Regions from separate parts of the Homo sapiens genome. Here regions 1, 2, 3, 4, 6 and 7 are each linked to region 5. Evidence: promoter capture Hi-C in 16 types of primary human blood cells and fetal thymus (Javierre and others, 2016). All regions are on one chromosome and are shown on one strand. The core of a region is centred on a gene start or on the middle of the fragment in contact, and the rest is flanking DNA. Distances in the headings are between cores, read along the strand shown.

The links. The method cuts DNA at HindIII sites, captures the fragments that hold promoters and counts their contacts. A CHiCAGO score of 5 or more calls a contact.
Region 1: a contact is called between the fragment with the promoter of SLAMF8 here and a fragment that was not itself captured in region 5, in 2 of 17 cell types (endothelial precursors and erythroblasts). The highest score is 6.7, in endothelial precursors.
Region 2: a contact is called between the fragment with the promoter of PIGM here and a fragment that was not itself captured in region 5, in 5 of 17 cell types (M2 macrophages, endothelial precursors, neutrophils and 2 more). The highest score is 11.7, in M2 macrophages.
Region 3: the fragment with the promoter of KCNJ9 here is called in contact with a fragment that was not itself captured in region 5 in 2 of 17 cell types (neutrophils and endothelial precursors); the score reaches 6.9 in neutrophils.
Region 4: the fragment with the promoter of IGSF8 here is called in contact with a fragment that was not itself captured in region 5 in 1 of 17 cell types (neutrophils); the score reaches 5.3 in neutrophils.
Region 6: the fragment with the promoter of SLAMF9 here is called in contact with a fragment that was not itself captured in region 5 in 2 of 17 cell types (neutrophils and megakaryocytes); the score reaches 7.4 in neutrophils.
Region 7: the fragment with the promoter of VSIG8 here is called in contact with a fragment that was not itself captured in region 5 in 5 of 17 cell types (neutrophils, erythroblasts, total CD4 T cells and 2 more); the score reaches 7.0 in neutrophils.

What each region holds. Positions count from the first base shown.
Region 1 is chr1:159,824,650-159,828,447 of GRCh38, forward strand. It overlaps SLAMF8 (SLAM family member 8), which reads left to right and starts at 2,224. Exons shown (of 5, transcript NM_020125.3): 1 at 2,224-2,289. The coding sequence starts at 2,250. The HindIII fragment of the contact is 24,464 bases long and covers 1-3,798 here.
Region 2 is chr1:160,030,470-160,034,202 of GRCh38, forward strand. It overlaps PIGM (phosphatidylinositol glycan anchor biosynthesis class M), which reads right to left and starts at 1,521. Exons shown (of 1, transcript NM_145167.3): 1 at 1-1,521. The coding sequence starts at 1,270. The HindIII fragment of the contact is 5,226 bases long and covers 1-3,733 here.
Region 3 is chr1:160,079,222-160,082,877 of GRCh38, forward strand. KCNJ9 (potassium inwardly rectifying channel subfamily J member 9) reads left to right here and starts at 2,317. Exons shown (of 3, transcript NM_004983.3): 1 at 2,317-2,476. The HindIII fragment of the contact is 8,750 bases long and covers 1-3,656 here.
Region 4 is chr1:160,096,218-160,100,024 of GRCh38, forward strand. IGSF8 (immunoglobulin superfamily member 8) reads right to left here and starts at 2,402. Exons shown (of 7, transcript NM_052868.6): 1 at 2,192-2,402. The coding sequence starts at 2,255. RefSeq lists enhancers at 8-534, 535-1,063, 1,064-1,590 and a silencer at 2,157-2,986. The HindIII fragment of the contact is 5,064 bases long and covers 1-3,807 here.
Region 5 is chr1:159,135,014-159,138,821 of GRCh38, forward strand. It overlaps a transcript of AIM2 not described here. Among named protein-coding and RNA genes, the nearest start is that of TRR-TCT4-1, 4.8 kb to the right of the region's middle. The HindIII fragment of the contact is 4,258 bases long and covers 1-3,808 here.
Region 6 is chr1:159,952,765-159,956,667 of GRCh38, forward strand. SLAMF9 (SLAM family member 9) reads right to left here and starts at 1,473. Exons shown (of 4, transcript NM_033438.4): 1 at 1,328-1,473; 2 at 545-889. The coding sequence starts at 1,373. It overlaps LOC124904438 (a long non-coding RNA gene), which reads left to right. Exons shown (of 3, transcript XR_007066684.1): 3 at 813-898. The HindIII fragment of the contact is 4,086 bases long and covers 120-3,903 here.
Region 7 is chr1:159,860,997-159,864,651 of GRCh38, forward strand. It overlaps VSIG8 (V-set and immunoglobulin domain containing 8), which reads right to left and starts at 1,661. Exons shown (of 7, transcript NM_001013661.1): 1 at 1,477-1,661. The coding sequence starts at 1,525. LOC107985216 (a long non-coding RNA gene) reads left to right here. Exons shown (of 2, transcript XR_001738263.2): 2 at 1-3,655. RefSeq lists enhancers at 162-1,076, 1,077-1,989. The HindIII fragment of the contact is 16,901 bases long and covers 1-3,655 here.

The DNA.
Region 1 (3,798 bases), core at 974-3,473, 690 kb after region 5:
TTGTTCTTGCTACACTGGTTATAATTATTGGTTTATATATACCATCTTCTGTGAACTCCTTAAGGTCAGGGGCTGAGCCTTTCATCTCTGTGTCCCTAGGTCCTGGCACCTAAGTAGATGCTCAATAAATGCCTGAGGAATGAATGACGGAATTGGCAATGGAGTCGTAAATGAGTTCCCTCCCTTGCCCTCTCCACCCCCATGACAGGCAGCTTCCCAGTTCTGCCCTTTCCTCAGTACTCTAGACATTTCCTTCATATGCAGTCCCTTCTCCTTCTCACAGGACCATCACAACAGACAACAGCTGTTGTTCAGGTTCCCTGGCCCCTTTGTTCTCTCCAACCTGCCCTGCCTGCTGTCCTCCCACTCCTACTTAAAACATGCAACAGCCCCTCTCTTCAAGCAGTGCTTCCGGAGCGGTCCCCCAGTCCACCAGCCACAGACTCACGCTGAGTGGGGTGCTTGTTACAACCACAGATTCCTGGGCCCTAGCTCACCCTGATGGCATCTCTGAGAATCCAAGTGCTGAACACAGTTGAGAGCCACTAGTCTCCAGAAGAACTTAACCCAGTTTTCAAGGCCTCCACAATCTGCCCCCAACCTCCTTTTCCATTCTTCCCACCCAGCCCTAAAGGATTCCTGTCTGCTGTCCCTTGTCCTCTGTGGAGCCTACTTGGTATTTTCCCACAGCCACATCCCTGCACGCTCTGCTCTCCCCTCCTGCCCAGAGCCCACCCCCAACCTCTGGCTCTCTCCTTTCCTCATATTATCTAAACCATGCCCATCTTCAAGGCACAGCTCAAATTCCACCTTCTCAAGAAGCGTCCCCTGCCCAGATCCGCGAAGCCCTCTTTCCCACCCACTTCTGAGGACTGACTACCTGTTTGCACAAAGTGGTGTCTGTCTGCAGATAACCCTTCACTTTCCTTGGTGTACCTATCTCTACATTTTGGTTGTGAGTACCTGGAGGGCAAAAACCTTATCCCAAAATCCTCCTGCTCACCACCCACCCCCACCCCATCCTATATGCCTAGTTCCTGGCTGAGTCCAAAGCTCAGTGTCCAGTTTGATTGACAGGCGAGAGGCTGTGCAGGACCAGATACGATGAGCCACACTCCAGACTAGCAGGAATTTTCCTCAGGGGCAACACGTCCTCTAAAAACCTTCACTGGCAAGAAACCAAGAAACTTGAAGTGAGAAGAGAAACAGGATGAGGAGGGGATAACTGTGGCAAAATAGACCACACTTCAAAGGCTGAGGTTCAAGTTCCAGCTCTGCCTCTCTGTGAGCTCTGCAAGGGGCCTAACCTCACTCTGGTTTTCACATTTTCCCATTTCTAACCAGGTAACAAGATGATCCTCTCAGAGGAGAGTTGCAAGGCTTACATAAAGCCAGATGTGTAGCCATGTCTAGAATGTACTCACTCACTTAACAAATACTCATGAAACATCTGTAATGTGCCAAGCACTGAGGGCAACACAGAAGGGAACAAAAGACTGGCTAAACAGTCTGTGAAAACCAGAAAACTGTCATCAACAACACAGCAAGAGTAAAGAGGGAGGTGTGGGCATGCACAGGACACAAGGAGAGGGCCTCTCACCTGCCTGTGGTCAGGAAGCCTGGAAGGATGTCCTCGCCGACTGCACAGCCATGTTCTGTTTGCAAGGATAGAGGGAGCAGCATGCCTAGTCGGGGTGGTGGGGAAAGTACAACACAGGGAAGTGTGAAATCAGTAGTTCTGAGAAGGAGGCCTTCTGGCTTGGGATGGCTGGAGGGCAGAATGACTGTGGGCGACCAGCCTGGAGAAGAAGGCCTGACTCAGGAGGGCCTGCATGCAGAGCAGAGTTAGTCCTCATCCTCAGGTCCACGGGAGGCCACAGAAGCATTTTAAGCTAGAATGAGGATGACAGATAGTAGTGAGGCAGGCTGAGATGCAGGAAGGCCAGCGAGATCCAGCAAGGAGGATGTGGCTTGTGTGGGGGCTGTTGTCGCCACGTGTTAGCCAACCATGTGCATGTGAAAGAGGCTGACTTACAAGAATCTGCTCCTGTAAGCCCAGAGAGGCCCAGGGACAACTTCCACTTTATTCTGGATGTTTTCACTTTTGGGACATCCTGTTCTGAGTCAAGATTCCTCCTTCTGAACATGGGACTTTCCAGAAGGACCACAGCTCCTCCCGTGCATCCACTCGGCCTGGGAGGTTCTGGATTTTGGCTGTCGAGGGAGTTTGCCTGCCTCTCCAGAGAAAGATGGTCATGAGGCCCCTGTGGAGTCTGCTTCTCTGGGAAGGTAAGTGGGGCAGGCAGATAGCCTGTCCTCGGAGAGCTGAAGGCCCCTCCCCAGCTGCCTATGCCAGACGTCTGGGCAGGGATCCCTCGACCTGGGTGAGAACCCAGAAGCTGAGGGTGGGTAGGAAAGACTAGAACAAGCTCTTGGGCAACATTTTAAGCTAGGCAGATACAAAGAGATGCAGGGTCCTGGGAGGGAGGAGGTGGCAGCTTGAGGGGTATTCTTATCTGTGAGACATGAGCTGTTTTGTGGCCCAGAGCAGTAAAAACGGAGCCAGTGGGTGATACTGCTGGTTTGGAGAGAAAGTCGGCTGTGAGAATGGTGAGGACCCGGCAGTGTTAGCATGCAGAAACTCTGCAGAGTTTGAGGAGAGTAGCAGAGGGCAGGGCAGAGCAGGGTTCCCCACAATCAGCAGAGTGTGTTTTCAACAGCCTGTGGGGGAGCTGAGGTCCCTCCCTACAGGCCTTTATAAGGGGAGGCAAGTACTAAGTAGGGATGAGAGAGGCTAAATGTGGCCCACGTGGACTTAGGGGTGGCCGACGGTGGTGTGATGTTGGGATGGCTGATACACGGGGTCTCCTCCACACCGGGCGATCCCTCTATCCATCTGATGCCTGAGTTCCCTTCCTTGGTCAACAAGCAGCCAACATGACATGGGTCAACACTGCCGGGCCATGGATGAGGGTTTATGGGGTGCAGCAAAGATTAAGATGATATTGTTTACATCAGAGGCTCATAGGGACTTTGGGTTGCTTTGTTTCATCTCCTTGCCTGAGTTCCTGGCCCTGAGAGCTCCAAAGCCTGCAGATTTCTTCAATATTTCTAAACATGTGCAGGAAATCACACCTTAACCTCAAAAAAGGCCTTGGTCTGTTTGGTGAGACAAAAATAATTTGCCTTTTTTTTTTTTCTTTGAGACGGAGTCTTGCTCTGTCACCCAGGCTGGAATGCAATGGTGCATCTCAGCTCACTGTAACCTCTGCCTCCTGGGTTCAAGCGATTCTCCTGTCTCAGCCTCCTGAGTAGCTGGGATTACAGGTCACTGCCACTAAACCCGGCTAATGTTTGTATTTTTAGTAGAGACAGGGTTTCATCATGTTGACCAGGCTGGTCTCAAACTCCTGACCTCAAGTGATCCGCCCTCCTCAGCCTCCCAAAGTGCTGGAATTACAGGCATGAGCCACCACACCCAGCCCAAAAATAATTTTTCAAATGGCCCTTAATGATCAAAGATCTGTGTGACTGACCTGGTACAGACCCCTTATTTTTCAGTGGTACTGAAGCCTGGGGCAGGGTGATGTGTGGAAGGGCACACAGCTGATCTGTGGCAGCACCAGGAGGAGCAGGTAGGAGCAGCTAGGTCTTGGCTGACATCCAGTGCAATTCTCTTTGTGTGTTACATTCCTGCTCTGCATTAACACTGAAGTCATCTCCAGTGTGAGAGGAGGTTGTTGGGCCTGGAGGACAGTGAGGCAGAGGGGGACCGGAATTATCATGGCCGACTGAGCA
Region 2 (3,733 bases), core at 271-2,770, 890 kb after region 5:
AGTCATATTTGATTCTCTCTGTCAGGGGTTCTTCTTTGTAATGGGAAATAATTTGAATCAGGATGGAACAATTGATAAGAAGAAAGAACAAACCAGCTAACCAAATAAACAGAAAGGTGTTCTTTCCTTGAAACTCTAGAACATAGGCAGGAGCCAGCCACATGGCCTGCCCTATAAACCATAACATTAGGAGAACTACAGCTCTTTTCCAAGGCATTCTGACTAGTGGCATCACAAGAGGCAGTAAGCAGAGGTACCAAAGAAAGTACTGGGAGGTGCAGACTTTGTTAAAAGTCACAAAAATGGACGTATGAAGAAAACAACAAAAAACGAGGTCTCTGTAATAGGCGAAAGACACAGCTGAAAGCAAGATGAGCTGTGGCAGGAATGCAGCAATTCCCAGGGAAAAACTCCACTTGCTCTCTGCAGTCAAATACAGCATGTAGAAGTACGGAGAAAAGTTGTGACGGATATCCCGCCTAGTCAGGTGATAAAAGTAGGTGTGTTCCAAAAATTCCCAGCCGTACTCATAGTAAAAACCAAAGCTCAGGGCAAAAAACGTGAGTCCAGCAACTGCTACAAACAGCAGCACAGCCCGATTACACAGCCTTTTCAGGAGCTCGTACAAACAAGCCTGGAAAGTGTACCGGAATTGACGGAGGCTTTTGTCATTGTCGCGATCTGGAAGCAGGTGGAGGGTTATGGGAAGGATGTAAGTCACTGGATATATCTTCATATGCACCGCGAAACCATAGAATACAGCTGCACACGCGACGAGTCTTTTCTTTATCAAGTAGAGGACCATCAGGACCAGGGAGGCGACAATAGAGTCCGCATTACCGCGGCTGGATACTGCCATAGGCAGGGGGTTAAGAAGCCAAAAGACACAGTAGCCACAAGCCTGGCGGCGCCCCAGCCCCTTCAGCAGCAGCAGGCGGTATAAGAGGAAAGCGGTGAGGAGGTCGCAGCTGATGAAGAGAAACTTTCCAAAGAGCTCGCTGAGGTAGATGTTGGGAGTGAGGAGCCAACCCAGCAGCGGGGTGTAACGGTACGTGGCTCTCAGGTAAGGCGAGCGCCCCTCCGTGACGAAGCGCGCGGCGTCGGTGAAGACCTGGTAGTCGATGTCCGTATACCTCACGTGCAGGGTCCGGTCCTGGAAGACGCCATAGAAAACCAGGGCGACTCTGGCTAGAAAGGCCACACCAAAGACGCCGGCTGGAGCCACCTTCAAGTTCAGGAGCCATTCGCCCCAGTGCTTGGTGGAGCCCATGATCTGACCGTGCGACAGCTGCTTAGCCCCAGCTCCAAACTGCCTTCGTACTTCTAACCTTCCCTTCGGTTCTTTGCAGCAGGTGGCCGCCGCATCTCCCACCCGCCAGGCTGCCAACCGAAACGACTGCAGACTATCACATCCGGCATGAAGCCCCGCCCCCGTACTGCTACCTGTCTCCAGCCCCGCGCGGTCTTCTCAGCCGCCCGAGCCAAAAACTTGCCTTCCTCTGGATGGACGGTCTCGCTTCCGCTTCTTCTTCCAGCGGAGGCGGGATTTCCGGTCCGTGGGAGGGGAGACGTCCGCTTGCCGGGAAATCCGGCACTGGCTTGAGGATTTTATGGAGTGGAGTGAGATTTCTTTGTAAGTGACAGCCCGCCGCCCCCCGCCCTCTTCCCGCGCCCCATTTCCAGTCCTCAGAGGAAAACCCTCCGACGAGCAGCGAGCTGCGGGCTGCGCGCTACATCCTTCAGTCCTGGGCTGGAGATCCGAGAGTGAAAAATGTAGGAGTGAAAGGAAGATAAGCCTTCTCATGCTTTACTCCACTAGCTCGCCGGTATTCACCGGGGATTTGTGGGCCCCGGACAGGACAGGATGAGTTGAAGGGGGCTGAGTGTGTATGTTCCATGCAATATTGGAGGCATACTTATATTTTTAAATTACTAGTTGGTAATCAGAGATTCAGATTTAAGTGGGCAGCTTGTATTTTATCCGGCAACCCTAGGTGAAGGTGATGGGAAAGAAGACAGGAAAGCGTCACAAAATTCCTTAACTTGTCAGCCCCTTATGCCTCAGTATCTCTGTATTTGCTATTTCTTCTGTCAAAGTTGCCATCCGCTCTCCAATCACTCTGGCAAATACCTACTCAACCCTTCAGGCATCAGTGCAAGTGTTAGCTCCCAGCTCCCACTCACTTCCTCATCACGCAGAATGAATGACTTAGATGCCAGTCCCCTCCCCTGTCCGAGGATAGGTAGACTGGGGCGGACGGGATCTAAGTTCCAGAAAATCACTCACACAGAAGACCCTGCCATGCTACTAAAAGTTCTCCCAGTGCTCCAGAACTCCCTGGTCATTCCTTTGTTACAGCATTTGTCACACTGCTTTGTAATAACTGTTTTTGTTTGTTTTGCTCTCCTAGTTTTCCATCAGGACACTTTCAATTCTTCGGTATCAGAGATTATCTTGTTCTTTTCTCTACCTCAACATCTAACACAGTACTAGTAGCCATTCAGTAAAGTTGAATTGATTTTAGAGGTTCCTCCTACCAGAATATTTCTAGAGTGGCATCTTTGGATTGCTCCCAACTCCCAGTTATTTTCCCTTTTAAATATCCTTTATGTATGTCAAGGTCCCCTGCTCCCCCCACCCCACTCCAACCCTACTTCCATGAATTTCTTGCCAAGGACTGTAACCCATTAGCTCTTCCCTTTCCGTGGTTACTTAGTGCACTTACATAGTCCGCATTGTAGAATTTGATACTTTATTTTAGATTGTATTCATAGCCCTCACAAGAGATTATAGGGTTCTTGGGGGTAGAAATTATATCTTATCCTTAATTTTTTTCAATTATGTGTAATTTATTGTAGTCTTAGGCACATGGTAAATGCTTAGTAAATACTGACTAATTGGATTTTATAGAATAAGCCTGCTTCCTAGGGGAAGTCTTCTAGACTAGAATAAGGAAAAGGAGGTGACTTCATGCAGTCTGAACATGCAGCTCCCAGAACTACCTGCTGCTCATCCATCCTACACTTCAATTTATCCCTTGGAGATGAACTGTGTTAATCTTATATATTCCATATTCATATTGTGATAGCTCTATGTCCTTTTATATGCCTTGGTATCATTACATGCCTTAGATTGATAATTCTAACCATTTTTTTGCAGTATATTAGCCATATATATAGTGGCAGCACATCACCACTCATATAATGATGATTATGATGATGATGATTACTATTATTTATAATAGCTGGATTTGTTGAGGACTCATTTGCAATGTACCAGGCATTATGCTAAGTACTTTTCATGTAAGGTAGATATTCCCACCTTTACAAATGAAGAAAACCAAGGCTTATGGAGATTAAGTAATTTTCCCAAGTCACATAGCTAACTAGTGACAGTGCTAGAACTCAAAACCCAGTCTGTCTGACCTAGAATATCTTAATCATTATGTGGCTGACTTGCCAATAAAATGTTGATCACAAATTCTAATTTTCCTATGTTTTCTCTTATTGATCTCTCATCTTGATATTCTGGATATTCTCTCTCACTGTGACTCTTTCTACCTCTGATTTATTCTTTTCTTCTGCAAATAATAGATAAGTGAGGCTTAGTTCCCTAAGATAGAAAATATGGGAGGTAGGTGTCTGAGGATTAACTAAGTAAGGGTCCTTGTGGCTGGATTGGTTTCAGTAGTATAGCAGAAAGGTTTCAGTCAATCTGTCCCTACATGGCTGT
Region 3 (3,656 bases), core at 1,067-3,566, 940 kb after region 5:
TCCTGCTCCTCTAGCTCATATTTTCTTGATCCAAATTTAAAGGATCTGGATAAGAATAGATCCATATCTGGGATATAATAATACTGATAACAACAGCAACAACACTTTGCGTTTGTAAACCACTTTCTTCTCTTCATTATTTCCCTGGGGAAAAATAAACAATAAGATATTTCTGTTTCTCCAAATTTTGTTCTGATTTTTATCAGTGTTCCTGAAGCTATTTCAATATAGTCATGATCAATTTCTAAGAATATTTTTAGGTTCTGCTTTTTTATGTAACAGTGTGTTATATACACATTCACATATTTAAACACAGCAATTATTATGGCTTTACAGTAACCCATGATATTAATATTCCACAGATATTACATTACTGAGGCACACTAGGCTAAGGCTGACAACACCAAATGCTGGCAGGAATGTGGAGCAACAGGAACAGGAATTCGTGGCTGATGGGAATGCAAAATGGTACAGCTACTTTGGAAGAAAGTGTGGCAGTTTCCTAAAAAACTAAACATACTCTTACCATACGATCCAGGAATCATGCTCCTTGGTATCTACCCAAAGGAGATGAAAACTTACGTCCACATGAAAATCTGCCGATGGATGTTTATAGCAGCTGTATTCATCATGGCCAAATCTTGAAAGCAACCGAGATGTCCTTCAGTAGGTAAATAGATAAATAAACCATGGCCATCCTGAAATGGAATATTATTCAGTGCCAAAAAGAAATGAACTACAAAGCCATGAAAAGACATGGAGGAACCTTAAATTTACATTACTAAGTGAAAGAAGCCAATTTGAAATGGCTACATATTGTACAATTCCAACGACATGACATTCTGGAAAAGGAAAATTATGGAAACAGGAAAAAGAGCAGTTGTTGCCAGGGGTTAGGGAAGGGGGATTGACTAGGCAGAGCATAGAGGACTTTTACAGCAATGAGACTATAATGGTGGATACACATCATTATATATTTGTCCAAACCCACAGAGTGTACAACACCAAAAGTGAACCCTAATGTCAGCTATGGACTTTGGGCGATTATGATGTCAATGTAGCTTCATCACTTGTAACAAATGTGCCATTCTGGTGGATGTGTGGGGACAGGGGGCATACGGAAAATCTCTATAACTTTCCTCTCAGTTTTGCTCTGAATCTAAAACTACCCTTTAAGAAGTCTTCTTTTAAAACAATTTACAAAGCATGAGGTGATACAGATGTGGGAGTTTGGCTCCTGTCTCTGCCCAACTCTGTGACATTCGATAAATTACTTAACATGTCTCTGTTTCAGTTTCCTCATCTATAACTGGGAAAAATAACACCTGTCTTATAGAGTTGCCATGGGGATGACATGAGGCATGTGTCTCGTTCATATCCCATGCTCAGTGAATTAGTAGCAGCAGCCACTGTGTGTTTGTGTGTCTTTATCCCTCCTGGGTTAATGAGCTCCTTGTGGGCAGGGACTCACCCATTCTGTAACCACCCCATCTAACACACTGCCTGGCACTTGGGCTCCGCAGAAGTTTGCCGAGTGAATACTTAGTAAGCCCTAACCTAGGCTTTTCTCTCTGGTGGACATTTGGGTTGTTTCTAGGGTTTTTGCTATGAATAAAACACATTTCAAAGCCCTTTGTGGTTTTTTTGGTTTTTGTTTGTTTGTTTTTTCTTCGTTTGATCTGCTGACTCTGTGAAGCAGGCAGAAAGGGGATATTTGCTCTTGTCCACACCCTGGTACAGATGGAATAACTGTGGCTCAGGGAAGTGAAGTGACTCCTATGGGACACAGTGCAAATCAGTGGCAATAATTAGAACCCCTGACCCTGCCTCCCTTCCTTTAGTAGATCTATTTTCCTTCTAGCTACCGCCTTCTGGATCCATGGCCTCTCCAAAACTAGACCATGATGGTCAGCCTGACCTGAGAGCAGCACCTGCACGCAGAGACCCATGTTGAAGGTGGTGAGCTGCCAGCTACCAGATGGCCCTCTGAAACCCCAGGGAACCTAGCACCTTATTCTCAAATACATGAGGGCTTGTATTTTCCCCCAGGAAGGAGCTTCTTAGGAAAGAGCCAGCGTGCCAGCTTTGTTTTTCTTTCTTCTTCTTTTTTTTTTTTTCCTATGAGGGGGTGAGGAGCCAAGCTCTGAGTTGTCCAGGAGGAGGGACTTTGGCTAAAAATAGCTATGGCGTGTGGTTTGGATCAACCCCTAGTGGTACCCAGGACTGGGGAGGGGAGGGGGATGCTCTGGAGCTGTCGCCAGACTGGTTGCCGTGGAAACAAGAGAGGAGCAGGGGAGCCTGGGAAGTAGGGATGACACAGATAGCAAGTCCTAGTCAGAGCTGCCGCTACATTTAGGAGAAACAGCGGTGTCTGCGGCTCCCACCCTTCGGGGGGCCCGTGGGGGGGGCGGTGTCAGGGGCATGGACGCCACCCCCCAGGGGTCTCTGCTGCCGGCTACTCTCCTCTCCACGTGCTGTGAGTTGAGTTGCGGGGGACTTGGGGTTTGGGCCCCTATTTCCAAGGCAAGTGGGGGTTTGGGAGGAGCTGGTTCTTGGGGGAGTTTTCACCAGGTCTCTCCTTCCAAAAAATGAGCCCCCTTACTCCCCAGCTCTCTAGAGGGAGGAAGAGGGGCCCAGGAAAAGTGGTATTGCAATCTTCTGCAAAGGGGTCATAGCATGCACAAGAAATGAGGAGTAGGTTGGAGGAACTGAAATTCTTGGAGGGAAGATGGAGAAATCAAGTCCTTGATCTTGAGATAGAGGTAACAATTTCACACTTTTCCTTCCCCTGAGAAAAGTGCAGTCCCCCACTCAGGAAGACAGGATGTGGGACACATTCAAAATAAGGTTTACCTAGATCCCTGGGGCAATGGAGAGTGAGAGAGTTCTGGGGGTGATCCGACATCGGGGTTCCTTCCCCATCCCTGGGCAGAGAGATCTGTCTAGGCAAGCCGACTGGGGGTCAGATTACCTAAGACCCTGAGAGAACATCTGGAAGCCCACCTGGGACTAAAGCTAGGATAATGGGAGCAGGGTCGTTTTCTGCATGACCTGGGGTCTCTGAGCCAGTCAATGCTTACTCTTCCTGAGGACATCTGAGCTTCAGGGAAGGAAAAGGAAGCCCATTGTTGGGGGCAGGGGAAACCCTAATCTTCCATTGCCATGGGGCTCTTGGACCCTGTGTCCCCTGACTCCATGGACAATAAATGCAGGGGGTGCCCCTAAGCTCAAAGCCATTTCATTTTGATTTCTCTTCCTACCTTCTCTACCCCAAGACACACAAACACACACACACACACCCTCTCCAGAGTGCTGACTGCAGAGGACCTCACCCCAGAACATAAGATGCTGGAGTGCTAGGTTTAGAGTCACATACCCAGGCAGTTTCTCCCCAGGACCTGGTCAACCATCCAGGCCATCTGTGGTTCCTATGGCACACTCCTCCATCCCCCACCCACTAGCCAGCCCACGTTTCCGTGGAGTGGGAGGAGAGGATCATTCCCAGGAAAGAGAAGGGAAGGTGGAAGAGTCCCAAATCCTATTCTAAACCTTTCCCTGTATGGTCCATATCTCCTAGAGGACCCTGGGTGCTTTGGGGAAGGGCTCTGGACCTCTCTCAGAGCAGATTGCAGCTCAGAGAGCTCCTCAGAGGCAAG
Region 4 (3,807 bases), core at 1,152-3,651, 960 kb after region 5:
CTCCCACTAGATAAGATCACAGAACCTCAATGTAAAGAGGGCTAGGCCACCCCTCCCCACCTCTCCCAATTTTACAGATGAGAAAGGTAAGGCAGGAAAAGTATAATATGTTAGCCAAGATCATGCTGTCCCTAGATGGCTTCCACACACTCCTCCAGAGGGGCAAAACCAGAGAGGAAGATGGGGAAACTCCAAGGCCAGGCCTGAAGGGACTGACCTCACCAACCAGAGTGTCACTTTTAGGCCTCCCAGGGGGATACCATGGACTTTCTGCAGGAGCTAGAGGAAAATGCCCAGGAGTCTGTGGTCAAACTCTACCCTCCAGCTTCTCTAGAACGGCTCCTCTGAACTTCCCCACCCCTGCTTCTGGGCTCCTAGCCCCTTCCTTCATCCTCTGGCTGGGTCACAGGGAGAACTCATGGTCTGTTGTTAAGGGCACAGCTGCCAGTCAGGAAGTGGGATTCCAGCACCATCCCCATGCCCAGCTGTGTGGCCTGGGATCCAGTCTCTTTCTGTCCTAGGCCTCAGTTTCCACACTGGAGGAGAACTAAGAGCTCCAGCTCTGACCATGTGTGAGTGCGTATGTGACTCAGGAGAGCCCTGCCCCAGGCCAGGCAAGTTTCATAATCAGAGTGACGGTGGAGACAGCCAAGCTGACACCTTCCCTGACTGCCTCAGGGCAGACTGCTCAGAAGGCCCCCTCCCATTTTCCTGGCTCCACAACTGCTGATGCTTGGAGATGCCCATGGGAAAGTCACCTCCACAGCCTTAGGAAATCAGTTGCCACACAGCTCTCTCTCCCCTCCTCTGTATCAGTCGCAGCAAGGAAAGGGACAGCAAAGAGGCCTGCTTTGGAATCAGATCTGTGTTCAAATCCTAGCCCCAACACTCACTAAATGTGCTCTCTGGGGCAAGTTACTTCATTTTCCTCATTTGTGAAATGAATGTAAGTGCCCACAGGCAGTGGGTGCTCAGACCTCTGCGTGCTCCTTTTTCAAACACAGGCCAGCACTTCCCCACCTCCCTGGGCTCCTCCCTGCTCCATGCTGCCCACTGGGGAAAACACACCAAGTGCTAGGCAACCCAGGCCCCACAGCGCCTTCCTCTCTGTACATCCTCCTGCCACCTGCCCAGGGACCAGGGAGAGGACTCATCCTAACCCTGCAGGGCCCAGGGACCTGCAGCAGGGGAAGGCTTTGCTTGGTGCCACTGTGGAGCTCTGGTCTAGAAACAGGCAGCTGGGGCTACCTTCAGCCTCTGCCTTGACGACAGCAGCTCTGAAGTCACCATCCCCACCCCCACGCTTCACTCTCATTTCAAGGGCTTCAGCCTCATCAACATCTGTACTGGCAGTTTCACTGTCTCCATGCCATACTCTTCCCCAGACCACCTCCTACAGGGAGCCCTCCAGTTCAGGCCAAAAACAATTCCACTGTCATTATCCCCATGCATCCATGCAAGATTGGCCCAGAACACCCCACCATGAACACCCACCACAGCAGGCACAAGGTGCTTGGAGATCCCAGGATCAGTCTCCATGGAACCTGGTTTCTCCTGAGGCAAGGAAGCTGGAACTAAGCGGTGTGAAAACTGATGGGTGGCTGCAGAGCCAAGTGCCATTTGGGAGACAGGAAGAAGGGCAAAGAGGGACCCAACCCAGGGTGGAGATGGGGGTGAGAGAGGGAACTGCCCCCAGTTGATGAAGTGCGTGGAGCGCAACTGGGAGAGACTTACTTCAAAGATCGTGGGCAGAACTGGCCTCTGGGCCTCCAGCCAACTCTGGGGCAATTATGAAGCTGGGCAGGCACTGCCCTCGTAGGGCGGGCACCCAAGGCCAGGCCTGGAGCTGAGTGTGGGGCAGAAAGGAGTCGCAGCATTTGGTGCAGCGACCCCAGTACGTGGGTATGCTAGCTGAGATGTGTGGCCTGCCCCGGGAGGCCGAGCAGTGCCTGGGGCAGCACCTTAGTGGGTCCTCTCTACGCCCCAGTCCCTGGCTTAGAGCTGGGGAGCCTGCACTCTTCCCAAGACTGGCTCGGCGGACAGCCACAAAGCGCAGCTGGACGCCGACCCCGGGGAGGCTGGAGGTACCCCTGACGGAGGAGGATGTGAGGAGCCCCGAAATGCTAGGGGGGTGCTGGATGGCAGGCACCTGCCCGGCAGGGCCGGGAACCGGAACGGGGGCCTGGCTTACCTAGCATTAGCAGCAGCAGCAGCGGCAGCGAAGGCGGCAGCAGCGTGGGCCTGAGGGCGCCCATCCTGCGCGGCCAGCTCTGGGGAGGCTCCGGGGGATGGCGCGGGTTCTGGGGGGCCGGAAGGGTGGGGGGCGCATGCCCAGGTTGAGGGCAGGAAGCGGGGCAGCGAGGCGTGGGTGCGCCGAGCGAGCTGAACTGGAGCTGCCGAATCCCCTCCCTCCGCCCCTCCCGCTGCTTTCCCTCCAGCCCTCGGCAGTTCTGAAACCATTCTCGCCCCGGCCCGCCCCGGCACCGCCCCTTCCACCGCCCCGTCTAGGCCCGCCCCGCCCCGGACCCAGCCTTGGCCCTGCCTGCCCCACCCCCGCCAGACTCCGGCCTTTGCTCCGCACCTGGCCCCGGCCCCGCCCCGCCCCTCGAAACTCACCTTTGAGTCGCATCGAGTCCCAGCCCCGCCCCGGCCCCGCCCCTCCCCGCCCCGCCCCGCCAAGACTCCAGCCCTGGATCCGCCCCGGGCCTCGGCCCAGCCCCAGTTCCGGCCCCTCCCCCGCCCCGCCCCACCAGGACTACAGTCGGACTCCAATCCTGGCTCCTCCCCGGGCCCCGGCCCCGCCCCAGTCCCAAGCCGCACCCCTTCCCCGTCCCCGCAGGGCTAACGTCAGCCTCCAATCCTGGCTCCGCCCTGGACCCCGGCCTCGCCCCGCCCCTGGCCCTGGCTCCGCCCGAGGCCCCCGCAGGAGTGAGCTAACTGCACCTCTGCGCATCGAAATTCCCACCCACCCTCGCACAGAGCGCATTCCACCCCGCACCTGCCAGCCTTTCCTGGAGAGTTGGGTGCAGGGTCCCTGGGATTGGCGAGGTGACTGTGACCACGCATTTAGAATTCAGTTATTTGCTCTGAGCCATAGTCCTCGCTGCAAACCCTGCTGAAGTAGGGGTTGGCGGAAGCCAGGAGTTCCTGAATGCGAAGGGTTTGAGCTGAAGGGCGCTTCCAGGATCCAGAAGGTCACTGGAGACCTGTTTTTCACCCCCTCAGAGGGCAAAACCAAAAGAAAAATGGATTAGGAGAGGGGGCCGTCCATGTGACGTCATTTCTGGGTTGGGTGATCCTAGCCCAGTTGTTTAACCTCCTTCAACTTCAGTTTTCTCCTCTGCAAATTGAATTGAGGTTGATCACATCACCCAAAGGGTTATTGTGATGATAGGTAATGTACATAAAGTGTTTGGCACAGGAAACTAACACAAAATGGGAGATAAGGATTATTTTGTTTTAGGTTTTGAATTATTATTTGAACTGCTTCCTAAGAGGCTTAGTTTAGACCTGGCATTTAGGTGAAGGAGTCTCTATGTTCAGTGACAGTGGGAAGAGATGAACATTGCTCTGTTCTAGGAAGAGTGGGGCTTGCCCTGGAGGTGGGAGAATGGAGGAGGCACCCTTCCCAGGTGCTCTGTCTCTTCCTGAACTGTAAAGATGGGAAGTGGGCAGGGGCAGGAAGGATGAGACCAGAATGGGGAGAAGAGATGGCCAGGTTTGCAAAGCCAAGGCTGTCAGAGTGGCTGTCAGTGGGAGGTGACCCCAGAGCCCATTTACCACCCTCTACCCTCCAACATCCTCCCT
Region 5 (3,808 bases), core at 756-3,255:
AGAGGTCAACTCTCCCAGCCACAGAACTTCTTTGCTCCATGGATCTCTCCTTCATTTACCATTGCAGCTTTACATGTTTTTCTGTGATCACCTCTGTCTCATTTGTTCATCATTGTACCTCGCTCAGTTCTTAGCACACAGCAGGTACTATAAGCATTTGTTGAGTGAGTAAATGAATTAATGATTATTATTCATTCAACTCTGTCAGTTTTCCCTCTATTTAACCTGTCTCTAGATTACTTTCACCTTCATCTCTGAGTGGATAATCAGGGACTACCCCTCATTTTTAATATTAATATAGTTCTGTGCTTTTATAATTTATGCATGCCAGGATCCCATATGTGGGGCATGCCAGGCATCACTTTTACTCTAATATTTGGAGCCAGATTATTATTTTTGTATTTTAAAAATGCAGACATAATGAAATAGAACCCTAAATCTAGAATGTAGCATAAAGTCTACGACTTCAGAGAAATGCTGTGCTTAGTACAGGCCACTTGAGGCCCGGCTTCCTGAACCTGGAAGTAAGCCATCACTCTCCTCAGCCATTAGAGACATGCTTAAGCACAAACCTTAAAAAGCACCGTTAGAAGTTTATACATAATAGAAAATTTTTTTAAGTTTCATGCTCCCTCAAAATAATATAACTTGTTCTAAGCAGTCGGATATTTTGGATGGTACCATTTCCTTATTTAAAAGTGGTCTATAGATGTAGCAAAGGAAGACAAGTTATCAGCAATTGTTAGTGATTGCCAGAAGATGCTCCCTTCAGATTCAGGACTGAGCTGGGTCCACAGCAAGGAATTCACCCAGAAAAAGATTTGTCCTGGAATACAACAGCCAAGCCCTCGTCTCCTGTCTCTTCCCAGCTCCCCAGGCATTTGTTTTTAGTCTAATTCCATCTCTGTAGACACCAACCTGCCTTCTCAAAATAGACACACTCGCCCTCATCCCAGGCTTTAAAGCCCGGCATTGCCCCACGCAGAGAAGTCCTAACACGACCCTTTCCACGGGGACTAGAATCTGAGGATTGTTGTAGGACTTCTCTGCTCGTAGCCCTAGAGAAAAATCTAGGCCTTTTACAGTGATCACTATGGGCAGAACGTACTCTTGGAGGGTAACTACTATTTAAAATACATTATGCATGTCTTGACTTCCACTAGGACTCCGCTTGAAGAAGAAGATGGTTAGAAACATGGGCCACAGATAAAATCTCTCAAGTCCTCACGCACAGCCTCCAAGAAACTAGCTTGATCCATACAATCTGAAGGTTTAGAAAGAATAACTACAAACAAGGAGGTTAGCATTTGTGTTTGCACCTCCTATGTATCTACCTCGACAATTTTACAGCTTACCCTATTTAATTCTAGGTATTAGTTAGATCATTTACTAGATGAGAAAATCAAGGGACTTAGACTTAGTGCATGTCTACATTCATACAAGTAAATAGCGAGACCTCAGATTCAGACTCAGATCTGTGTCATTACCATGAAGTTGCTGCTTCTACTATGCTCATGGTTATCAACTTCCCTTATCATAATACGCCATTTCTCACCATTCATTCTCTCAAAAGAATCATCACTGAACAATATTACCACCATGGAAGCAAAGAGATCCAACTAACTTCCAAGGAGCACATAGTTCAAAGATATTCTATTCCATTATAATTTATAGCAAGTACTAAGGACATAAACACTGCAATCATGTTTTCTGGGATAAGGTCTATTTGCTACAGCTTTACATATAAGCAAAATGAACATTTTTACCATTAGGTAATAACTATTGTAATGACAATAAATAAAAATAACTAGTTTAAAAATAAGTGATCTCGGCCAGGTAAGCTCTCCAGAGATGATAAATCACTTTTGTAGGTGGACTGTTACAAAACCCTCCACCTCTGGTGGTACAGCACTACGGCTTGGGAATCACCGTGCCACAGCTTGCTGCTTCTAAAGGCTTTGGGCCCAGGAGACCTCTAAACCTGCCTACATATCTGACTCTATTCTCTACCTGTCTATTCTATCTCTGTCTGTTCTCTACCAACAGATAAAATTTGCCTTTTAACATAGAAACCAGAACCTCCACTCAAACTCATCAGTGGTGCTCACTAACATTTAGAAAAGCCTCACCTCCAAGCCTTATGTCAGTGATTGCCAGTGGCACTAGAATTGCCCCTCAGAAGTGGTTTGAAAATTTGATGGAATAGTTTTTGTTGTTATAATGATTGGGGGCCACGGTTAGCTGTAGAGAGGAAGAGCATGCTGGACTTAAGAGTCCCAGAATGTGTAAGGGCATCTCTCACAAAGAGGAATTGACCCATGATGTATACTCCTGAATGACCTATTAAAACCTACGTGCTGGGGCTGGGCGTGGTGGCTCACACCTGTAATCCCAGCACTTTGGGAGGCTGAGGCGGGTGGATCACTTGATCTAAGGAGTTCAAGACCAGCCTGGCCAACATGGTGAAACCCCATCTCTACTAAAAATACAAAAATTAGCCGGGCATGTTGGTGCGCGTCTGTACTCCCAGCTACTCAGGAGGCTGAGGCAGGAGAATGGCTTGAACCCAGGAGGTGGAGGTTGCAGTGAGCTGAGATCATGCCACTGCACTCCAGCCTGGGTGACAGAGCGAGACTCCATCTCAAACAAACGAACAAAAATAAAACCTATGTGTTGGTATCTGAGCTTAGAGTCTAACTTGTTTTTATATGTTAGAGAGTTTTCTGCATGATTTAAAACTTCCTAAATTTTCCAGGAATGCAAAGTACTGCGCATTTTGCAAGAAGACTTACTTTGCTTTGATCAAAAATGTATCCAAAAGTGTTCACCAGTCTGGAAAACCAGGACGCTGCTGGTGAACGACATCCCTCATGAGATTTAAGTCAGCAGTGCAGCATGCCTGCACTGGTCTGCATATGTAGCTGTTGCGTTCAGGGTGGGTCTTCATATAGGTGCAAGGGTGCTGGTATGGCATTTATGTACTAAAATGTATACTATTTATTATAAGTTTATTTCTTTTTATTCCTCTCTTACATTACAATTAGGGTATTATATTGATTAGTTTTCATTATGGGCATGGGAAAGTTATGTTATCTATGAATTTCATTGCAGGTTAGTAGAGAAGAATTGAAGAAATAATGGACCTAACAAGGCAGAGTTGGATGTCATAGGGTTGAGAACATTGTCCTAGATGGTGTGCCCTGTATCAAACTCTAATCCCAACTCTTCCCATCACTCCCTCCCACTCCACCACACTGACCTGTCAGCTTTCCAATCAGGCTGGTGCCCACATCAGAGTCTCTGCTCTTGCTGTTTCTCTGTTTGAAATGCCCATCCCCTAAATCTCATTGCCCTCACTTCACTCAGGTCTTCACTCAAAAGCCACCTCCTCTGAGAGGTCTTCCACAACCATCATTCATCACATCACTCTCCATCCCCAAGCATCCTTTAAATTCCTCCATAGTACATATCACTACCTAAAATGCTATTAGCTATTATAATATTTATTTACCTGTCTGTCATTTGTCTTCATCATGGGAATATGTATTCCATGAAGAAGGTGGAATCTACTATTTTGGTGCCTGGAATAATGGGAAGTGGCATGAAGTGGGTGCTTGATGAATATTTGTTAAATAAGTGAATTAATGCCTGAAGATACTGTCTGTGCTCCTGCTCCCTGGAAGCTAGGAGTAATCTCTTTCTCTTTCCTATCTATATAATTTATAGTCAATTGAAGTCAGCATTAATTCTTTCAAATATATCCATCAAATGCCTACCATATTTCAGGCACTGAGAATACAATAATAAA
Region 6 (3,903 bases), core at 223-2,722, 820 kb after region 5:
CGTATTCTCTCTCTTACTTTTGTACTCTACCTTCCTCCAAACCCCATTCTGTCTCCTTGATCCCATGAAATATTATCGCCCCTCTCAGGGGCATTTACATTTTAATCAGTGTCCCTTCAAGCTTCAAGGTAGATGCAGTGTGACAGACACTAAGAAGAAATTTGGGTTCAAGTAAAGAGAAGATACTCATTAGTAGCCCTCATCACACAGGGAAATAAAAGGCTCAAGAATGTAGGTGGTGTTCATCCCCAGAACACAATTTCACTGGAAGAGAAAAGCCCCCTACAGGATCTGTACATGAAGCCCCTGATCCCTGCCACTGCATCGGACAGCCTCCTTGCTCCAGGTCACTCCGCCTGTTGCTGCGGTTCAGATACAACAGGTGGATTGGGCACACTCAATCACAGTATCTAGATTGGAGACAGTCTGCCTCCAGTTCTAGCCCCTCAAACCATAACCCCAAGTCCTGAGACGCCCACTCCATGGTGTGAGAAGCTCAGAAGAGCCCCCAAAACCAGCTTTATGGTTCCCAGCCTAAACTCACGGTAGACACATATATTGTACTGCTGCATGGTAGAGATCTGGGATGTTCTCAGGTTGACTTGAGCTTGGTAAAGCCCTGAATCCTCCCAGCTCAGATTGCTGATATGCAGGGAATAGCTGGGGTCCAGGAAGCTCACTTGGCCCTGGTAGTGTGGATTGGTCACCATGATGGTAGCTGGATGTCCCTCTTTCCCTGGCACCACAGTGGCAAGACTTTTGTGAGAGGACCAGATGATGTTCTCAACCTCTTCATCTGGTGGTATTTCCAGGGGGAGGCTGATGGACTCCTGAAGGACCGCAACCACTTCCTCGGATCCACACCATCTCCAGAGTCTCCTTTGGCTGCCTATGCAGGAAGAAAAGAGAAGCAAACAACCCAGCTGCTGTCTCTGGGCTGCTGAACCTGGCAGTGGAGCTGCCAGAGTAGCGTAATCTCAGCTGGGCAGCTTCTATGACTCTCACACTAAATCCTGTTCTCCAGCTGCTGCTTCTGACTCTAGATTTCCCCTTTCCCTGAGTTAAGCACCTAAAAGGAGTTTGCTTCCATCTGTCCCTTCACCCTCCAAGTTTTACCTTCTCCTTTGCCATCTTGGGATTGCTCTTTCTTCCATATCCCCAGGTGTCTCTCGGTCCTGCCCTGAAGCCACACACCCTACTCCTTGTAACTCCAGAAGAGCTGACACATTCAACCCCTAAGAAAGGGTCTTACTGGCCCAGACCCAGTGGGGCAGGGGAACAGAGGTGTAGGGGACATTCCTGTGCACGAGCTGGCAGCTTCACTCACCCTCCTGGAGCAGCAGGAGAAGAAGCAGCCAAGGAAAGGCACACATGTCAGCAGCCCCCAGCCCCAGAGGTGTGATTCAGTCAGTCAGTCCCCAGGACTGTGCAGAAGACTGCATTAGGAGGCTCCTAGACACAAAGAGCCTGACTGATGGTCCTGAGAAAAGGGAAATAATTTTCCCCTGACTACAGCCCTCTGACGTCCTCTGTCCTCACTAAGCCCCTCCCTATGTATCATGGCTCTCTTAGTTCTCTTTCAGATCCTGATTGTCATGACAGTTTACTCACTGACTCATGATGCCATCCACCAAACTCAGCCCAAATCCCACTTCCTAAATGAAGTCTTTCAAGACTTCCTACCCGCCCCAGGTCCCCGCACGTACTGCATGCCCCGAACTCGTAGAACATTCCCTATCCTGTTATTTGGCTCCCAGGATATTCTTCCCTAGCTCTCTCTGGGTAATTCCTATGTTGCTGTGATCATTTGATCTTATAAACATCTATATCTCCCCAGACAGACTTCATCTTTCATTTCCTGTGTATGTCCCATTATTGCTGGCCCCATACTAGACATGTGTCTGCACTCAATTGATAGCTTTATAATGGATGAATGATTAAGCCTTTTTATTTAAAGCTAGTTATGTTCCCACCTGAGAGGCTATTCGCAGGGGAAAAACATTTGATTCAATCCTCTTTAAGAAAGCAGTTTGGCCGGGTGCAATGGCTCACATCTGGAATCCCAGCACTTTGGGAGGCCGAGGCAGGCAGATCACCTGAGGTCAGGAGTTTGAGACCAGCCTGGCCAACATGGTGAAACCCCGTCTCTACTAAAAATACAAAAATTAGCTGGGCATGGTGGCGTGCCCCTGTATGCCAGCTACTCAGGAGGCTGAGGCAAGAGAATCACTTGAACCCAGGAGGTGGAGGTTGCAGAGAGCCAAGATTGTGCCACTGCACTCCAGCCTGGGTGACAGAGCAAGACTCTGTCTCAAAGCAAAAAAAAAAAAAAGAGAGAAGAAAAAAAAAAGTAGTTTGATCAGAGAGTTGATCTATGTTGTTCATATTATGAAAAGACTTTAAATCGTTTTGTGAGAATACAATGTTGATCAACTTATATGAATTCAGATTCAAGAAGAGACTGCAGAGGATCAGGGTTATTAAATAGCTTCCTGGCAGTCAAAGCTGTTCTGGATGCAATGGGCTGCCTTAGAAAGTAGCTTCTGTCCCTAGTATTCAAGCTAAGAGGACAATCACTTGCTTGGATTATCTGCAACATCTCTGCCATCAGATGGATTCTCAGACTGGATAATCTTTAAGTTTCTTCTAATAATCAATTTTATGAGTCTGTGCTGTGAAGAGTGGTGTCTCAAGACCAAGGGAACAATAGAGGAAGACGTATTCAGCTTTGGTCTTGTGCCAACATTTCCTAGTTTTAGGTTAGCAAATTCAGAAATCTGTTAAATGTTTATTGAGTAGCTTCTATGGTCCATACACTGTCTTAAGTGCTGGGGAATTAACAGTGACCAAGAATTTTAGATCGTGACTTCATGGAGCTCATAATGCTAACAATTGACATTGGACAAGTAACTACAAGTTTGATGAATCTTACCAAAGGAATAATTGAAGGAGCCTATAATAAGGCGATTTGGCAAAGTTGGAGTCAGGAGGGTTGGGGAAAAGCTATCAAGGAGAGATATTTAAGATGAGACCTTAGTTCTTCAAAGATTGGTAGAATCTGCTTAGTGAAGAAGATAATGAAGTGAGTAGTTCTTAAATTTCAATTTATGAGTATAAAACCTGAGGGATTAGAATTTTTTCTTAAAGGTGAACCAGATTTCAGTCTGAGTATAAAACGTTTTTATGTAATAAATCTGTTTAACAAATAAAATTAGATCCAGCAATCCCACTGTTGGGTATACATCCAAAGGAAATGAAATCAGTATGTTAATGAGGTATCTGCACTCCACGCTTATTGCAGCACTATTCACTAGAGCCAACATATGGAATCAACCTAAGTGTCTATCAATGGATGAATGTGTAAAGAAATTGTAGATATATACACAATGGAATACTATCCATCCTTAAACAAAGAAGGAGGCTGGGCAAGGGAGCTCATGCCTATGATCCTAGCGCTTTGGGAGGCCAAGGCAGGAAGATCCCTTGAGGCCAGGAATTTTAGACCAGCCTAAGCAACATAGAAAGACCCCATGTCTACAAAAAAAATTTTTAAACATGATCAGGGCATGGTGATGCATGCCTGTAATCCTTGCTATATGTGAGGCTGAGGTGGGAGGATTGTTGAGCCCGGGAGTTTGAGGGTGCAGTGAGCTATGATCATGCCACTGCACTCCAGCAGAGACCACCCAGAATAGAGATGCATCTACTCCCAGCCAGGGGTAAGAGAGAGGGAACCAGCAAAACTTAACCAGCAAAACTGCCCTTAACAGAAAATAGTGCATCCTAGCCATCCTCCAGGCCCACTGAGTGCAAAGCCACTCAGCTAGGTAAGAAGAGTTTTGACACCTCCCCATCCTCCTGGAGTGAGGAAAGCTGAGTAGCGGGTGGTAAGTTGAGAGGGAG
Region 7 (3,655 bases), core at 411-2,910, 730 kb after region 5:
CCAAGGGTTCCAGCCTTTCCGCACCCCTCCCTCTCCTTGGGAAGTTGCTCCTAATGTCTCACCTTGATTCCTCTTGCTGTAGCACTAAGGAAGTACTACAGGGAATGTGAGAGGAGAGGCTGGAGAGAGGGAAGAAAGGCAAAGTGGAAGAGAGAGCTGGATGGGAGACTTGAGGAGAGACAGGAATGGAGGAATCACATGGGCTCTCCAAGGAAGAGGACAGTGGTGATTCTTTGCCCCCCAAAAGCACCAGAAACTGGCCATGCTTTACGGGGTGTCATCTCAATAGTGGTGCCTACTCTCTGCTTGCAAATTCTTTCTGAATCTTCAAGGTGCTTCCAGAACTCCTGATCTTCCCTCTGGAGGTAAGGGAGGGGAGAAAAGGCGGCTCCAGCTGAGGGTATTGATGCGTTAATGCAGCCAGTGCTGAGTTGTCCTCACACACCCATTGACACACCACACAGGGGGAAGTCCGGGTCCCCACAGCACAGCTGGAGCCTCCCGAGTGGACTCTGCCAGCCCTGCTCTCATCAGACAGAGAAGGGCTGCAGCTATCCTGCCGGAAATGTCATCATTCCCATGCAGGTGCACGCACCCACACACTCACATACACATTCACGCTCACACAAAGGCTGAAAATGTCACCCCGCCTTCCCAAATTCCTCCTTCATGCCCCTTCATCCCAAATCCAGACTGCAAGAGGGACTCGGAGCCCTTTCCAGTGATGTTGGCATAGAATGCCCCTTGGTGGAACTTGCCCCAACCTGGGCAGGAAGCCACAATGTCCAAACTTGAGCCCTGCCCTGTGGACCTGTCCTGGTGGGGTGAGAAGTCTCTGGAGTTGCCATCCCCACCACCCTCAGGCCTCATCCTAGAGTGGGGCACTGCCCTGTCATAGCACAGGGGGCCCAAGGCTGAGGTCTCAGGCCTGAGCTGTCACTGGCCATGATGGAAGAAACCACTCAGACTTACACCAGACTTAGTCTCTTGCCCTTTCAAGGCAAGTGACTTCCCTGCCCCTTGGCCCTGGCCTTGGGAGAGAAGGAGTAGCGTTGGGAATAGCACACAGTCTGATGAAAATTGATCCTTCCCAAGCTCCTCCTGAGCCCTCACCCAATGCCCGTGCTTACCCCTCTCCTACCCCACCTCCAGCTCCTGCAGAGCAATCAATCCCTCTCCTCCTAGTCACGGCATGAGCTTGCAGGGCACCTGCACACATGTGTGAGCCCGACAGGGGACATATAAAGATCCACTCAAAGACCTCTGCACTACAGACACACACCCTGAACATCAGGCACAGGGTCTCCTGGGGAAAGGTCCCCTGGTAATACCCACACCCGGCTGCAGCAGGGCAAGGGTGGGCAGCACCCTGCCAGGCAACTCAGGCAGCCCCAGGCTCCACTGTGAGCCCTTGCTGCCCCTTTCCTTCCCACCTAGCCTCATGCTGGCTACCCTGCCCCCTGCCCAGCCCCGTACCTGGGCTCAGGCACACGAGTAGAAGGTGGAATGCTCCTCCAACTCTCATGTCTCTAGGCTCGGTGTTTCCTCCGTCTGGGCTGGGTATCCCGTGGGGTCGTAGTGGTGGGTGTGAGGGGGTAGGTGGAGGGAGGGGGAGCTGAGGGCCCAGACACTGCCTGGGGTGGCAGGAAGGTGCAATGAGTGCCCAGCTGGGGAGCAGCTGGAGTTATTTCTATGGGAGGGAGGGGGCCTGGTCCCCGCCTTGGGGAGGAGTCCCAGGAACCCTAATTAGCAGGGTGACAGGGTGGCCTACCTGGGCATTACCCAGCCCTCACCCAAGCTCTTCCCTGTCCTAAGAGTGGCACAGGACAGCCAGCGGGACTTGTAATTAGGCACCTGTTAAACTTCACTTCCTCCTGGCCACATCCTCAGGGTGACAACAGTCACCTCATTTACAGCTTCCAAGGGCTCCCCTCACCACTCATTTGCTGCCTCCTTCCCTGGGGGAAGTGGGGAAGAGGAAGGAGAAGCCAGGCTTGGGAGAAAGAGTGGCCAGGACCTGAAGAGTTAATCCTGATCCCAGGGCATAGGGTTCCCCAGGAGTGTCCAGCCCACCTTCCCCCAGGCTTCAGGCCTTTCAAAGGGACTCAGGCCTCCTGAGCTGAAAGAGGAGAGAAGGGGTGTGTGCAGGAACAGAGTCTCCTCCTGGCTGTCCCCTCTGGAACTGTCCTCCACACCCATACTCGACTCAAGGCCATCCCCAAGTGTAGGGGACCCCTGGGAGCAGGGGTGCTATGGGGGGTCCAGGGTGTGTGCTAGGAGTAAGGTGACTGATGGGCTAGTGAGGGAGTGTTGGAGAGAACAGCGCCAAGAGGACCAGGGAAGGGGGTGCCTGTGTAAGCGTGTGCACCCCTCAGCAATGTCTGTGGGAGGGAGGCAGGATGTCTGTGTCAGGGTGTCTCTGTGAGGATGGCTAAGCCCCTCTGAGTGAACTTCTTGAGGGATCGCTTGGTGTCCTGGCTTCTCTGCCCAGAAAGAGTAGCCAGGTCTTGAGGGTTAATGCAGTCCCAGTATTAACTGGGTCCTTGAGACCAAGGACCCTCATAACCTGGACTGGTCATCGGGCTGACTAAACCAGCACAGTTCTGGGTAAGTTCGTGCTGGGGTGGGGAGGGTCCTGGTAGGCATGGGGAGCAAGTGAAGGGCCACCCCTTGTTGGCTTGTCTAAGGGGGACAGAATGGGCATGTGCCTTGTTGGACTCCATGGTGGGAGTCAGGACATGAGTGACCCCATTCAATAGCTCAACTCCCTCAAAGGAGTCAGGGACTGCCCCCATCCCTACCATGGGGCACAGAAAGGGCAGAGGAGGAAGAGTGTTAGGGAGAGTTATGGGGCTCAGGGATGCTGCCAGGGCCCACCCCTCTGGGGAAAAATAAGTCAGAACATTAAGGAAACACAAGGAGTCCACGCGTCTCTGCATTCCAAGCCGTTGCACCTGAACTCCCAACAATAACAGGGCGCTCTGAGACCTACCAGATGTACACAATGAATATCTTTATTTCCTTATTTATTTTTAGGTTTATGGGATTGTCCTGCTCCCTTTGAAGAGCAGGGATCATTATCCCCATTTTACAGATGGGGAAACAGAGACCTGGAGAAACATGGGGATTCAGCCAATGCGGCTGGTGCCTAAGCTGGGATACCCAGGTACCCAGGGTGTCAGTCCAGAGAGGTCCAAAAAATGGTCTTGGTGATCCTGTGGATTACTAGACCCACTCACGAACAAGAACCATGGAAGGTCAGGGTGAGTGGGAGGGAAAACAGGTCAGACCACGAACAGAGAGATTGAGGAGAAAGCAGTAACATTGTGGTTCCACTAAACTACAGTGCAGGCTTCAGATTTAATTGGGTTCTGGATGTGGGCTAATGTTAGAGCTGGGGTTAAGTTTGGGGTTAGTTGAATTATGAATGAGGTTGAGGTCAGATTTGAGGTTGGGATTAGAGTTAAGGTTGGGATTAGGGTTAGAAATACAGCTAGAATTGAGGCTCAGGTTTATGGCTGGGATTTGTGTTACGATAAGGAATAGAGTTTTAGTTTCATTTACAGCTCTGCCTGGGAATACAGTTAGGGCTAAATCAAAGGCTGGGTTTAGATTGATTTAGCATTGGGTTAGAACTAAGTTTGAGATTCACATT